Linked DNA regions of Homo sapiens: region 2 is linked to region 1. The links are contacts of gene promoters, found by promoter capture Hi-C in blood cells and fetal thymus (Javierre and others, 2016). All regions are on one chromosome and are shown on one strand. The core of a region is centred on a gene start or on the middle of the fragment in contact, and the rest is flanking DNA. Distances in the headings are between cores, read along the strand shown. Region 1 holds the start of CENPS (centromere protein S). Region 2 holds the start of CTNNBIP1 (catenin beta interacting protein 1).

Region 1 (7,039 bases), core at 4,117-6,616:
TCAAGACCAGCCTGGGCAACATACCAAGACGCTGTGTCTCTAATATAAATATTTATGTATATGTGTGTGTGTGTGTGTGTGTATATATATATATATTATTTTTAAGTATTTAAATTTTTCATTTTTTTTTCCCACAGCTAATAAATAACAAGTAAAGGTATTAATATCTTTCACCGGGGAGGAGGGCCACACATAAGGGGCATCTGCCTGAATCAGCAATGACTAAGCCACATGAGCTATCGGTATCCCTTCCTACTACCTTATCCCTTTTGGCCAAGCTGAAGATGCTAAGCGGTTTTCAGGGACGAATATCCACAGGAATAGGACAGATTGAGAGCTTGCCCTCCGAGAACCCACTGCTTTAATTCATTCAAAACACGCACCCGAGAAACAAAGAGCTAACGGGAACAAGGTGAAAAGTAAGGGGTGTGGGAGAGGCTGGCACCGAATCCAAGTGGCAGCAAATTAGAACACTTTCGCCCTTTCAGGCCTTCGTCATTCAAATTGCTTCATAAAAGCAATTTGGTGCAATTGTTTTCAATTACCTGCGGTACTAATTGAAGAGCGGAGCATAAATCACCTGTAAAAGCTGAGGCTTTAGCAGCTGAAAGCAAGTCACCCACTTTCCAAGGAGTGCGTCTTACTCGGAACAAATGCGGCAAATGAAAACCCCTGCCTGCCATTCTGTGTACACCTGCAAGCAATTACCACCGTGGACACGCTGCAGCTCCCTCCGCAGAGGGGCGGCCACCCCCAGGCACCATGTTCTCAAACCCTGAGCAATCAAACCACCCGAAGACATGGTTTTTAATACAGGCACCAGCATTCAGGGTCCTGGAGATGGTATTCACACCTTTTTCACTTGGGACTGAATAACTTGGGTTCTTTAACAAAAAATACTTGGAAAACTTCAAAAAATGTTCAAATAAGTGTGAATCACCGTGATTGAAGGAGGCGTCATGTTCTTGCAGAACCATGATTAGAGACAAGCCTCCACAAAACACACGGAAAACTGAATAGCTAAAGCTCTCCTGAAATAACCCACCAGATGGAGAGGCCCCAAAAAGCTACACAGACGCAGTGTCGGATAATCAAGTTCTCTACCCACCTTGCAAACATTTCAAGGTCTTTGGCAAAATTTTCTGAAAGAGAAAAAAAAGATACACACTTTAGGCACCCTCCCATCTAATTTCAGAAGCAGAAAAAGTGAAGCCTTGATTTCTACAGCCAGTACAGTGACTTGACTAATATAACAAACCCTCTTAAAGGTGAAAGGAGGCATTTCCAGCAGCCCCACCATTCCATAAGAGCCTGTAGCTTTTTATTCATGACGATCTCCTTGTCCTTCCCAGAGCCCTTCACCCTTCATGGCAAGTCTTCCGTTAATTGTGACTATGCCTTTGGTTTCTAGAAACTATCCTTTAACTTCTGCTACAGTTAAGGCTTGTGAGGTCTTTCATTTCCCCTCTGAAGTCAAGCAAATACCAATGCTACAAGCTCAGCTGTCAAAGAAACTATGGGTGATATAAAAACGTTATAAAGCACTGAAATAAAGAATTTAATGTCTAATGTTCTAGCCATCAGGGCAGTTTAAAACAATAAAATAAAGGCGTTAATGCCCCAGTGTTAGTGTAATAGGAAAAAAATAGTTCTTCCCATAAAATATCCACATCTCACAGCCAAGAAGAGAAGTGTTTCACGAAGAACGCATGAGGATGATAATATTCTTGGTCTGCTGGTCAGACTCGCCACAGCTCCCACCCACGCACTGCTCCCAGGTGAAATCAACCTTTGGGGTTTACAGACATGGCTGGGGAGGCCGAAGCTTCATACCACACTGTCGGAAAGTCAGCTCCGAAATGGCCGCAATGGTCTGTTTGCTGAACTGCATCTCTTTGTCCAATGCAACTTCCTCGCAAAGACAACCCACAGTATAGTGAACTGCTGCCTTTAGCCTCTGGGGAAAAACATCAAAATATTTCACGGGTAAGGCTGCAAATAAGAGCTTTTCACGCCTTAAAAAATGAAGACCAAGGAGAGGGTCTGCTCAGCCCAATCCCTCTGGCGCTTTCCATAATGGCTGAGTGGCTTTTCAAGTGTACTAATAAGTTAATGAGACCCACTGGAGTGCGACTTGTGGAAACATTACTTCCTTGTTAATGGTTATGATTTATGTCAGGTAAAGATAAGAAATTAGATGGCAAGTCAGTGGGGAGACAGGTCAGACTGATGCCTGCCAAGGCCCTGAGTGGTTTCACTCACTTATTCCAAACTATCTGCAGAGCTCCAACTCAGTAAGGGCATATGCTAGGTGTTTGGGAAACAATGAAAAACCGGGCAGGGAACTTTGCCCTTAAGGCAGTTAATCAACAATACAGAAGGATCCCATCCCTCTGCTGCAAGCCCCTGGCAGCCCCAGGCCTGCACGTCACAGAGGACAGAAGTACAACACGGGAAAGGCTCAAGAGGGCACACCCACCCCTCTCGATTTGGAGGGTTGGGAGGCCACCTCCACGGGGCCCTCACTGCTCCTTGGCAAACCTTTTCAATACTGAAAAAGATCTCTCCACCCCTTGCAGAAAATTACCGAGAGGGGAGGATGAGCCTCAATTGCAAGACAAGCTAAGCAATGGTCTCAGCCACGTGTCGACAGAGTTCTGTTGAGCCCACCTGTGGGTACTCCGCCTCGGGGCCGAAGACACAGCTGAGCTGCACGTGATGACAGCTGAACCCACAAGGGCATAAAATCTACCAGCAAGTGTTCAACGCATAGGCAAGAGGAGGAGGAACTGCCAAAACCCAAGTCCAGGAACTCAGGATAGAGGCCAGACAGATGAGGAGGGCATCTACTTTCCTGAATTTCAGACCTCACAAGACTAGGTAAGCTGAGGCCTCTGGTAGGAGAAGCCAAAGAGGCATCAACCTGGGAGGCACGAAGATCACAGGTGTGATCACTGCACACTACAGCCTCGAACTCCTGGGCTCAAGTGAACCTCCTGCCTCAGCCTCTTGAGTAGCTGGGACTACAGGCCCACAACACCCTGCCCGGCTCAAGGTCATCTTTTTTAGGTATGGGTGGGGGTCAGGGTACAGGACATGAATTCTTCTGAATGCTCTTGGCTCCAGGAATTTTTCTCAGATCTTCCTCCTCCTCCTCCTCCCCTCCCCCTGGCTGGGCTGGGGTATCACTGCACTTAGAGGCTAAATCACTAAACTCCTCAAGGGCAGGACCCTGTCAATTTTGTTCACTGCTGCCTACCAAGTGCCTAGAACAGTTGGTTACATGAATGGGGGGAAATCGTCTACAAGCTAATCACAGCTGAGGGGCAAATTTCTCAGCCCATCTTTGCAGCTTCATCAGTAAGCATTTGTTGGTCTATTGAGAGCCAGGCTCTGTTCTAGGGACTAAGAACAGGCCGGGCACAGTGGTTCACACCTGTAATCTCAGCATTTTAGGAGGCCAAGGCGGGCAGATCACTTGAGGTCAGGAGTTCAAAACCAGCCTGGCCAACATGGTGAAACTGTCTCTACTAAACATACAAAATTAGCTGGGCGTGGTGGCAGGGGCCTGTAATCCCAGCTGCTCAGGAGGCTGAGGCAGGAGAATCTCCTGAACCTGGGAGGTGGAGGTTGCAGTGAGGCGAGATGGAGCCACTGCACTCCAGCCTGGACAACAAGAGTGAAACTACGTTTCAAAAAAAACAAAAACCAACCAAAAAAAAACAGGGTAGGCAGGACCAAAGATGACTAAATGCAATGCACCATCCTTAACTGAATCCTGGATGAAGGAAAAAAGACAGTTAAAAGAAACATCTTTAGGACAAGTGGGGGCACTTGACAATGCACATTCAATAGAGTTTTATCAAAATTAATTGTCCCACTTCCTGAGTGGGACAATTTATTGAAATGATGTAGTAGGAGAATGCCTTTTTTTTTTTTTTTTCTGAGATGGAGTCTCGCTCTGTCACCCAGGCTGGAGTGCAATGGTGCGATCTCGGCTCACTGCAACCTCCGCCTCCCGGGTTCAAGCGATTCCCCTGCCTCAACGTCCCGAGTAGCTGGGATTACAGGCACCTGCCACCACACTCGGCTAATTTTTGTACTTTTAGTTGAGAGGGGGTTTCCATGTTGGCCAGTCTGGTCTCGAACTCCTGACCTCAAGTGATCTGCCCACCTCGGCCTCCCAAAGTGCTGGAATTACAGGCGTGAGCCACCGCGCCCAGCCAATGCCTTGTTTTTGGGAGATGTGTACTAAAGAATTAAAATGTAAAGGCGAAGTGTCAAAATATCTGCAATTAATTCTCCAATCGCGGGGCTGGGAGGGAAGCATGGGAGCAAACAGAGCAAAATGCTAACTAGTGGTGAATCAAGGTGACGGGCATCTGGGCATTCTGTACCGTGTTCTTGCAACTTTTCTGAAGGTTTGAACTTCTCAAAAGACAAGGGGCAGGGTAGACAGCTGCTGCAGTGTAACTTTGTAGAGAGGAAACTCCCGCGTCTGGAGCTCATTCCCGCGTTTCTTCAGTCCGTCCTCTTTAAGGTCGCCACTCCGGGTCTTGCTTTTAAGCCTCTTCACGGCAACGTTCTCAGCCTCTGACGCCCCATATGCCCGGCGCTGATGAAAGGAACGAATGGGATGCCCGCAGCTACCCTGACAAGTGATTATTCTTATGACGATTTTGCAGAGAAGAAAATTGCGTCTGGGCCGAGTCGATACGATCACAAGTTGGCGGGGCAGAGATTCGAACCCACATCTAAGGACGAGCTCTGGGCCTGACTGGTCCGCACCGCGTCCCTGCATCAGTAACGAGGGGTCGACGCCTCCAGGGCCAGCGTTCCAGAGCTCCGGCCCGAACCGCCCACCGCGTACGGGCGTCACCTGGAATGTCTAATGCCGACGTTGTACCCTCACGAAAACCCCATCTGAGAAGGGGAAACCGAGGATTCATCGCAAGGCCAGAAGGTGGCCTCTCGCCGCCGGACCCCGGCGCCCGCACGCTCCCCTAGAACCGCTTCCTCCCCAGCCAGCGCAGGCCAGGGTCCAGCCGCGTTGCCGCGGAAACCGCCTCCCAGCACCACCCGCGGCAGTTAAGCCAACGCATGCGCAGCCGCGGGGGGCGCCCGGGGGCGGGGTGCCGATGAGAAGCCGCCGGGGGCTGCCGGGTACTTTTCTGTCCAGAAACTCGACGCCGTCCTGCCCCAGCCCAGCCCGACCCCCGTTTTCCTGTACCTGTTGGTAAGAGAATCGCTGCTGCTCCTCGGTCTCCGCCTCCTCCTCCATCACTGCGGGCCGACCCTGGGCAAACGCAGGAGGGCCGAGAAGGGGCGGTGGTGCGCGGCCAGGTCGGATTTTCCCGCCGCGGCGCGAGCGACGGGCCGCGCGGGCGGACAAAGTACGCAGCTCCGCCCTGCCTCGCGCGCCCCCTGGCGGCGCTCCGTTGAGGGGATTCCGCCGTCGGCCTCCAGCCAGCCCCCTGCTCAGCTTGCTCTGCGGAGGTGGCCGGGCGACGCGGGGACATGACCACCGAGGTCACTGCTGCACCCCAGAGCCTGATTCAGCGCCTGGCACAACGCTGAGCACCACTCTCCGCGAAACACGTGTGCGCATAGGTGCAAAGCGTGTTCCAGTCGGGTGTAGAGGATGCGTAGCCCACGATTTACAGATCATGTAACGCAGTACACATTATCAGGAGCTCCATGCACCTGTACCTCAGGTGTATCTTGCAAAATCGACCATCAACTTTATCATTCTATCACCAACAATAGCGTCACAAAGACTACAATGAGTGAACGACCCGTGACCTCATTCAGCGAGTGGAACAGGAACTGCGTTGTTGCCATTGGCAGGAGTATAGTTCTGACACAAGTGTTACTGTTTTTCCTTTATGTTAACGATGAAGTGAGACCATCAAACCCAATTTTGGTTTGTTTTTATTGTAGTTTTTTGAGAGGCAGGGTCTCACTCTGCCGCCCAGGCTGGAGTGCAGTGGCACCACCAAGACTCACTGTAACCTCCACCTCCTGGGCTCAGGTGATCCTCCCACTTCAGCCTCCCAAGTAGCTGGGACCACAAGCCTGCATCAGCGCACCTGGCTAATTTTTATTTTTTGTAGAGACCAGGTCTCACTATGTTGCCCAGGCTGGTATCAAACTCCTGGCTTCAAACAATCATCCCACCTCAGCCTCCCAAAGTGCTGGAATTACAGGTGTGAGCCACCATGCCCTGCCTGTATTTCTAGGTTTTTGTTTTATTATTTTTTATTGCCTATATTTCTGTATTCTGCATTTGTCACAAGCAGGTGCTACTTTCAGAACGAAGGAAAGCACATAAAGCCACTCCTTGTCTTCCTTTCCCAGGGACGTCCCTCAAGTTCCCTAAGCTTGCCAGGGGCTGAAACCCAGATCAAAGCTTTTTGGAGGAATCAGCCTTCTGAGGACTTTCCTCTGCATCTGCTCAGTGGGTGGCATCTGGAAATGACAGGCACTTCTCGCCTCTGTCCACTGCTCTCTGTGGGCATCCCAGTCTACCTGGACAGTCCTCCTGCCCAAGCAGGGCAAGCCTCTGACGGATTCCCCTAATGGGCAGCATGGGGCTGGGCAGGGCAGGCCATCCAGAGTGAGACCAAGCCTGCAGCAGGAGAGAAGGCCGGTCGCTGGTTGGTGAGCAGCCCCATTTAGAGCACACTGTGGCTGCAAAGCCCAGCTCCCTCCCTTGAGCCTGGTGACCCCAAGCAAGTCACAGGACGTGGCCAAGCTTCATGTCCCTTATTTATCAACTGGGGACAGTAGTTCCAACTTCACAGGGCAGGTGTCAGGTTTTAAACAATTGCCTCACATAAGAGCTAAAGAAATTGTAACAATTCGTCCCAGGAAGTTCCTGTGCTTTGTACCTGTGTGTTCCCTCATTTTAAAGCAGTTGCTTCCCAGGATTAAAGAACAGTATTCCAGTGACATGTGTGCAATACAGAGGCACTTAAGAGCCTCAGAGGCTAGGAGCAGTGGCTCATACCTGTAATTCCTGCACTTTGGGAGGCCGAGG
Region 2 (7,024 bases), core at 2,551-5,050, 520 kb after region 1:
AGCCAGGCATGGTGGTGGGCGCCTGTAATCCCAGCTACTCGGGAGGCTGAGACAGAAGAATCGCTTGAATCCGGGAGGCAGAGGTTGCAGTGAGCTGAGATCATGCCACTGCACTCTAGCCTGGGTGACAGAGGAAGACTTTGTCTCAAAAAAAAAAAAAATTAACTGGGGGATGGTGGCACACGCCTGTAGCCCTAGTTGCTCCAGAGACTGAGGCAGGAGAATTGCTTGAATCTGCGAGTTTAAGGTACAGTGAGCTAGGACCATGCCACTGCACTCCAGCCTGGGTGACAGAGGGAGATCCCATCTCTAAATAAATAAAAAACAGTTATCCTTCCCTGCAGCCTGCTATGGTTGCACTGTTATTTCATACTTCGCCTGAAAATTTTACTCTTATAGTTATCCTTTGCTGTAGAGAACAGTTTTTTGGCTGGGCACGGTGGCTCACGCCTATAATCCCAGCACTTTGGGAGGCTGAGACCGGGTGGATCACTTGAGATCAGGAGTTTGACACCAGCCTGGCCAATATGGTGAAACCCTGTCTCTACTAAAAATACAAAAATTAGCTGGGCGTGGTGGCGCATGCCTGTAATCCCAGCTACTAGGAAGGCTGAGGCAGGAGAATCACTTGAACACAGGAGGCGGAGGCTGCAGTGAGCCAAGATCACACCACTGCAGTCTAGCCTGGGCGACAATGAGACTTCATCTCAAAAAAAAGAAAGAAAAAAAAGAGAAAAAAAATAGTGTTTTTTTTCTTTTTTTGCTCCAGAAAGCAACTATTTAAAGATACATAATAGGCCAGCATGGTGGCTCACAGCTGTAGTCCCAGCACTTTGGGAGGCTGAGGCCAACAGATCACTTGAGGTCAGGAGTTCGAGACCAGCCTGGCCAACATGGTGAAGCCCCGTCTCTACTAAAAATACAAAAAATTAGCTGGGCATGGTGGCGGGTGCCTGTAATCCCAGCTACTCAGGAGGCTGAGCAGGAGAATCACTTGAATCCAGGAGGTGGAGGTTTCAGTGAGCCAAGATTGCACCACTGTGCTCCAGCCTGGGCAACAGACTGAGACCCCATCTCAAAAAAAAGAAAAAAAAGATACCTAATATATGTTCTGGGACCACACGGAGGCCCTCTCCAGAGCTGAAAGGAGAAAATATCGAACCATAAATGCAGTGAGAGAAGAGTAAGGAGGAGAAGGCTGATAGCCCTGGGGGTCGGAGGCGGGGAGTAGGAGTGGCTGGCCGGCCGATGGAAGGGAAAGTCCTGGATGGAGTATTTACACATTCAGTTTGTTCCTGCAGTAATATTTGTGGATACAGGTATTGTGCTTGGTGGCATGGTCCTTGCCCTCCTGGAGTTTATAGCCATGCTGTGGGACTAGGGCTAGCATCCATTAAGAGGTCTCCCGGAAGTAGACCAAGTATTCAGGCAGGTGAAGTGGGGAGAAATCGGAAAAGAGCCATTGAGGCCAAGGGAACAGCGCAATCAGAAGACCTGAAGCACAAAAGAGCTCCCTGTGATCAAGGAACAGGCACAAGGCCCATATGTGGCTAGAGCCCAGTTGGCAAAAGTGGTTCAAGATCAGGCTGTAGCCAGATCCTGTAAGGCCTTGTTGCCACACTAAGGACTTTGAACTTCCTCGTGAAAATGAAGAGAAGTCGTTGAATAGCGCAGGTCTGACAAGATTTTAAGAAGTTTCCTTTAGTTGCTGTGTGGGCAGTGAATGGGGGCGTAAGGAGAGCCTAAAGGAGAGACTGCTTGAAGGGTTATTGCAGGAGTCAAGGTGATAGCTGGTGGCAGGTTAAACTGGGAAAGAGGGGTAGAGATGGTAGGAGGTGGAGAGATTAAGGACACCATTTAGAATTGGAAACAACATGGACTGGAAATGAAGAATAAAGGAAAGAGTGGTGTCAACGGTACAATTTAAGTGTCTGGTGTAAGCAACTGGGTAGAGAGTGGTGCCAGTTACTGAAGGTGGGGACACTGTAGGAGAAACCCACTTGGGGACCAATTTTTTTTTTTTTTTTTTTTTCAGACAGAGTTTCGCTCTTGTTGCCCAGGCTGGAGTGCAATGGCGCAATCTCGGCTCACTGCACCCTCGCCTCCCGGGTTCAAGCGATTTTCCTGCCTCAGTCTCCTGAGTAGCTGGGATTACAGGCATGCGCCACCACGCCCGGCTAATTTTTGTATTTTTAGTAGAGACGGGGTTTCTTCATGTTGGTCAGGCTGGTCTCCAACTCCCGACCTCAGGTGATCTGTCTGCCTTGGCCTCCCAAAGTGCTGAGATTACAGGCATGAGCCACTGCGCCCGGCCGGGGACCTATTAAGTATGAAAAAGTGTGAGCAGGCCGGGTGCGGTGTCTCAGGCCTGTAATCCTAGCATTTTGGGAGGCCGAGGCGGGCAGACCACTTGGGGTCAGAAGTTGGAGACCAGCCTGGCCAACATAGAGAAAACCCGTCTCTACTAAAAATACAAAAATTAGCCGGGGCGCATGCCGGTAATCCCATCTACTCAGGAGGCTGAGGCAGGAGAATCGCTTGAACCCGGGAAGCGGAGGTTGCGGTGAGCCAAGATCGCGCCACTGCACCTGAGCCTGGGCGACAGAGCGAGACTCCCTCTCAAAAACAAAAAAACCCCCCAAATGAGTAAAGAGTAATGTGGATATTATATTATAAACGAACAAACAAAAAAGGACTTCGTATTCTTTTTGCATAGGGAAGGGGAAGAAATGTGGAGTGGAAGAGGATGGTACAGAAAAGGTGTAAAAAGAAAGGCTGTGGGAGGAGTAGGGTAGGAGGGCTTCTGAACTGGGGTTAGTGTCACACTGTGTAACTGATAATTTAAACTGCTGAAAATGAGACCACACTTAAAGATACAGGTCCCTTTAAAAGGAAGGCGGATGTTAAAAGCAATTTGCATTTTACCTAAAATGGGCTGCTTCTCCCTGTACCCTCTCCAAATACAGCCAGACTTTCTGTAGAAACATTTTAATCATGGGCACCCTTCCCCCGAAAAATCCACTCACTACCAGTACACACGACCTTCTGAGTTTAATGGACCTACGGAGGCCCATCCCTGGGCTCTCTGGGCTAGGTTAATCCCAGGTTAGGCCCCAAGCTCAGAGGTAGCAACGTTCCCAGCTCAACGACGCAGGAAGACCACGCCTCTAAATGTTCTGCAACCTCGTCCATTTCAGAATTTTCCGGGGTTCTGGGTAAACTGGCCTCACCAAGGATTCTGCCCCGTCTTGTTGCTCCCGTTTTTAAACACAGACCGGTGTGTGGGAGAGGCCATTATTTTTCCGGAACACTGTGCTCCTGGAGCAGATAGGGACACGCAGAGTGGCTTTACCGCAGCGCCAGCTTCAGCCTTACCCGGCTCCTCCTCCAGGCCACCGCCTCCTCCTCGCGCCCAACCCGCCTTCCCTGCTCACCCCCGGCCCGCTCCTCCCCTTTGCTCTCAGCGCGGACTCGGCCACTCACTACCGGCGCCGTGTTCCACCCGCCCACCGCATGGCCCCGTCCCTATGTCGCTGGTCTCGCCCCCTTCCAGGAGGGCCCAATGAGCGTTCACATGCGCCACAAGGCCCCGCCCCGCACCGCGCAGCCCCGCCCACAGGCTGAGTTAACCAATTCGCGGCCCCGGGCCCCGCCCCGCCCGCAGGCCCCGCCCCGGCGCCCGGCCCCACGCGCCCGCCTCCCTCCGGGGCGTTGCCGCCGCCGCGCCTCAGCAGCCCGCGCGGAGCCAGATGCCGCCCCCTCCGCCGGTCCCTCCCCCGGCGGCCTGGCGCCTCCCTCCCTCCCCACCGCGGTGACTCTCGGAGCGGGAGGCGGAGGCTGAGGCGGCCGCTCCTGCTGCTGCTACTGCCGCCGCCGCAGCGGCTGCTCGGGCTGAGCACGCCCCGGAACAGGCCGCCGCGCGCTGCGCGCCGGACCCGCTGCCCCTGCCGGCCCGGCCGGGTCGGGCGGCCCAGGTAAGCGCCGAGGCCGGGCCGCGCCTGCACCGCCCGGGCCCGCGCCGCGCCGCGCCGGGGCTTGGGGGAGCGGCCAGCCCTTTGTCTGCCGGGGAGGGGCCGCGGAGAGCGCCCCCGACCCCGCTCGGACCCCTGACTGCCCCAGCGGCGCGGCGCCCTGGTCTGGGCCTGGCCGCCTCTCGCCGCAGACCACCTCCCGCCTCCCTGACTCTTCGCCCGGGGGTCGCCTCCACAGGTGTCCGCGCCGCCCACCTTGTTGCTCACCTCACCGCGTCCGGGTGCCTGTCATCGCCCGTCCGCCCTCCCGACCTCTGGGCCCCTGCCTCTTCCCTCACCTGCGCCCACTCTGAGACTCTTACTCTCCATATTTCCCCAAACTAAACGCTGGGCCGCCCTTCCTCCCTCTGTAGTTTGATTGAACTGTCGTCTCCCGATTCCACCCCTCCCCGGTGAGCCTTCCTGGAAGGTACCTGGTGGGGGCACATATCTCACCTGGATGGCGGGCGTGTATGCACGAACCTGCAAAATTAACCACCTGGAGCCCCAAACTGCACCTCTCACCTCCTTTTCATCACCCCACCCCAACCACCTTCCTTTTTTTGGAACCTGGTAACCGAGACACTCAGGTCTGGACACCCAGCCTCTGCTAGGCCCTCCATCCCTCCCTCTGCCTTGTGAGCTGAACTTGTCTGAGCAGTGCCTGTTGTCAGGTTAGCCCCTGGGAAGGCGGCGGGGGCCGTGTTGGCCGCAAATCAAGAGTTTTATGAATAATGAGACGTGTGGCTTGCACCACCTCCTGTCTGAGGATCTCAGTATGCTCCAGCTGTGAATTATTTTGTCTCCTGTCACTCACAGAACTGAGAGGAACATGTCTGGCCAACTGCTGGGTAAATTGAGGTACAGGGTGTGTGGGTAAGGGACCTGGAGGCAAGTCATGGTTTGTCTTGAAGTTCTGTTCGCAGGAGCCTTGGCTCTTAGCTCCCTGCTACAACCACTGGGCTCCAGTTCCTGGAGTGTGTCCCCAAGTGATAACTGATCTCTTGTGCCATTAAAATGTCCAGAGATACCAGCAGCTTCCTCAGATTTAAAGTAGGACTTTGGATCATAAATAAAGGTGCGGGCTGTTAAATGCCAATGTGTCATTCACGGTTTGCTGGGGGAGTTCGTGGTCCTCCCTTGTAAATACAAATCACCTCTATGGGATGGAGATTCATTCATTCAGTAGTGAGCATTTACTATGTGCCAGGCACCGTTCCAAGTACTGGGGCTTTAGTGGTGAAGACAGACACGGTTTCTGCCCTCCTCAGAGATGACATTTTAAAGAGGAGGAAAGTCAGACAATAAGTGAGTAAACAAACAAGTGGACAAAATAATTTCAGTAGTGGTAAGTGCTATGAAGATGGAGAGGGGCCAGATTACATATAAGAATCTGTGGCCGGGCGCGGTGGCTCACGCTTGTAGTCCCAGCACTTTGGGAGGCCGAGGCGGGCGGATCACGAGGTTAGGAGATCGAGACCACGGTGAAACCCCATATCTACTACAAATACAAAAAATTAGCTGGGCGTGGTGGTGGGCACCTGTAGTCCCAGCTACTCGGAGAGGCTGAGGCAGGAGAATGGCGTGAACCCGGGAGGTGGAACTTGCAGTGAGCCGAGGTCACGCCACTGCACTCCAGTCTGGGCGACAGAGCGAGACTCCGTCTCAAAAAAAAAAAAAAAAAAAAAGAATCTGTGGATCAGGGCGGACTCAGTGGTTCATGCCTGTAATCCCAGCACTTTGGGAGGCCAAGGCGGGCAGATCACGAGGTCAGGAGTTCGAGACCATCCTGACCAACATGGTGAAACCCTGTCTCTACTAAAAATACAAAAATTAGCTGAGCGTGGTGGTGCATGCCTGTAGTCCCAGCTACTTGGGAGGCTGAGGCAGGAGAATTTCCTGAACCTGGGAGGCGGAGGTTGCGGTGAGCCGAGATTGCGCCACTGCACTCCAGCCTGGGCAACAGAGCAAAACTCCGTCTTGGGCGGGGGTGGAGAAAAAGAACCTGTAGATCAAAACAAAGATTTTGTAGGTCGTAATAAAGAGTTTGGATTTTATTCCAAGAACAGTTAGAGGCCATTGGAGGGTTTTAAGCAGAGAAAGAATAAAGTCTGATTTGTTCCAAAAGATTGTTCTGGCCACTGTGTAGAGACTGGATTCTAAGGAGCAAAGGTGGAGGCAGGAATACCAGTTATGAGACAGACTATTGCAGCTGCCTGGCAAGAGATGATGGTGGCTTGAGGGATCGGGGCAGTGGCAGTGGAAACGAAGAGGTGGAATCAGTCTGTTCCCTCTGGGAGAGCTGCAAAGCAAAACTTTGGAGACTGAGAGTTAGATGTCCCATAACAACGTGCTCACAGAACAGGTCCCCGCCTCCTTGATTGGAGAGGGTTTGTGGGTTTAAAAACCAGTTAGAGGTGGAGGAGGGCATAATACACTGGGTTTCATTCCCACATCCGGTTGTATTGTTTAAATGGGAACATTACTGCCACTGTTGGAAGATGTTGCACCAGGAAATTGGGCCTGTTCTCATGGTAGGTAGGAGAATGTTTCAGTGGCCACAAACTTGAGCTATTAATGAGAATGAGGCCAGGTGCAGTGGCTCACCCCTGTATATGCCAACATTTTAGGAGGCCAAGGCGGGCGGATCACCTGAGGTCAGGAGCTCAAGACCAGCCTGGGCAACATGGTGAAAACCCGTCTCTACTAAAAATACAAAAATCAGCTGGGCATGATGGCGAGTGCCTGTAATCCCAGCTACTCGAGAGGCTGAGGCAGGAGAATCGCTTGAACCAGGGAGGTGGAGGTTGCAGTGAGCCAAGATCGTGCCACTGCACTCCAGCCTGGGCGACGGAGGAAGACTCTGTCTCAAAAACAAAAAACAAAAAAACTCCCCAAAAAACAGAATAAAACTTATCTCCATGCTGCTCCAAATCTGTGCTGTCAGAACATGTCAGAATGAGAGGACCTTGGGGGTTACACAGGCCAGCCCCTTCTTTTATGGTTAAGCGTCT

What was found. Contacts are between HindIII fragments. The CHiCAGO score rates a contact against its expected background, and 5 or more counts as called.
Region 2: a contact is called between the fragment with the promoter of CTNNBIP1 here and the fragment with the promoter of CENPS in region 1, in 2 of 17 cell types (fetal thymus and naive CD8 T cells). The highest score is 5.9, in fetal thymus.

Annotation. Positions count from the first base shown.
Region 1 is chr1:10,428,760-10,435,798 of GRCh38, reverse strand. It overlaps CENPS (centromere protein S), which reads right to left and starts at 5,366. Exons shown (of 5, transcript NM_199294.3): 1 at 5,231-5,366; 2 at 1,834-1,957; 3 at 1,109-1,142. The coding sequence starts at 5,281. CENPS-CORT (CENPS-CORT readthrough) reads right to left here and starts at 5,366. Exons shown (of 4, transcript NM_199006.3): 1 at 5,231-5,366; 2 at 1,834-1,957; 3 at 1,109-1,142. The coding sequence starts at 5,281. RefSeq lists enhancers at 2,063-2,643, 4,719-4,768 and a silencer at 5,019-5,268. The HindIII fragment of the contact is 4,555 bases long and covers 1,828-6,382 here.
Region 2 is chr1:9,907,045-9,914,068 of GRCh38, reverse strand. It overlaps CTNNBIP1 (catenin beta interacting protein 1), which reads left to right and starts at 3,800. Exons shown (of 6, transcript NM_020248.3): 1 at 3,800-3,974. RefSeq lists enhancers at 1,859-2,531, 2,532-3,205 and silencers at 3,353-3,952, 3,963-4,022, 4,193-4,252. The HindIII fragment of the contact is 9,783 bases long and covers 1-7,024 here.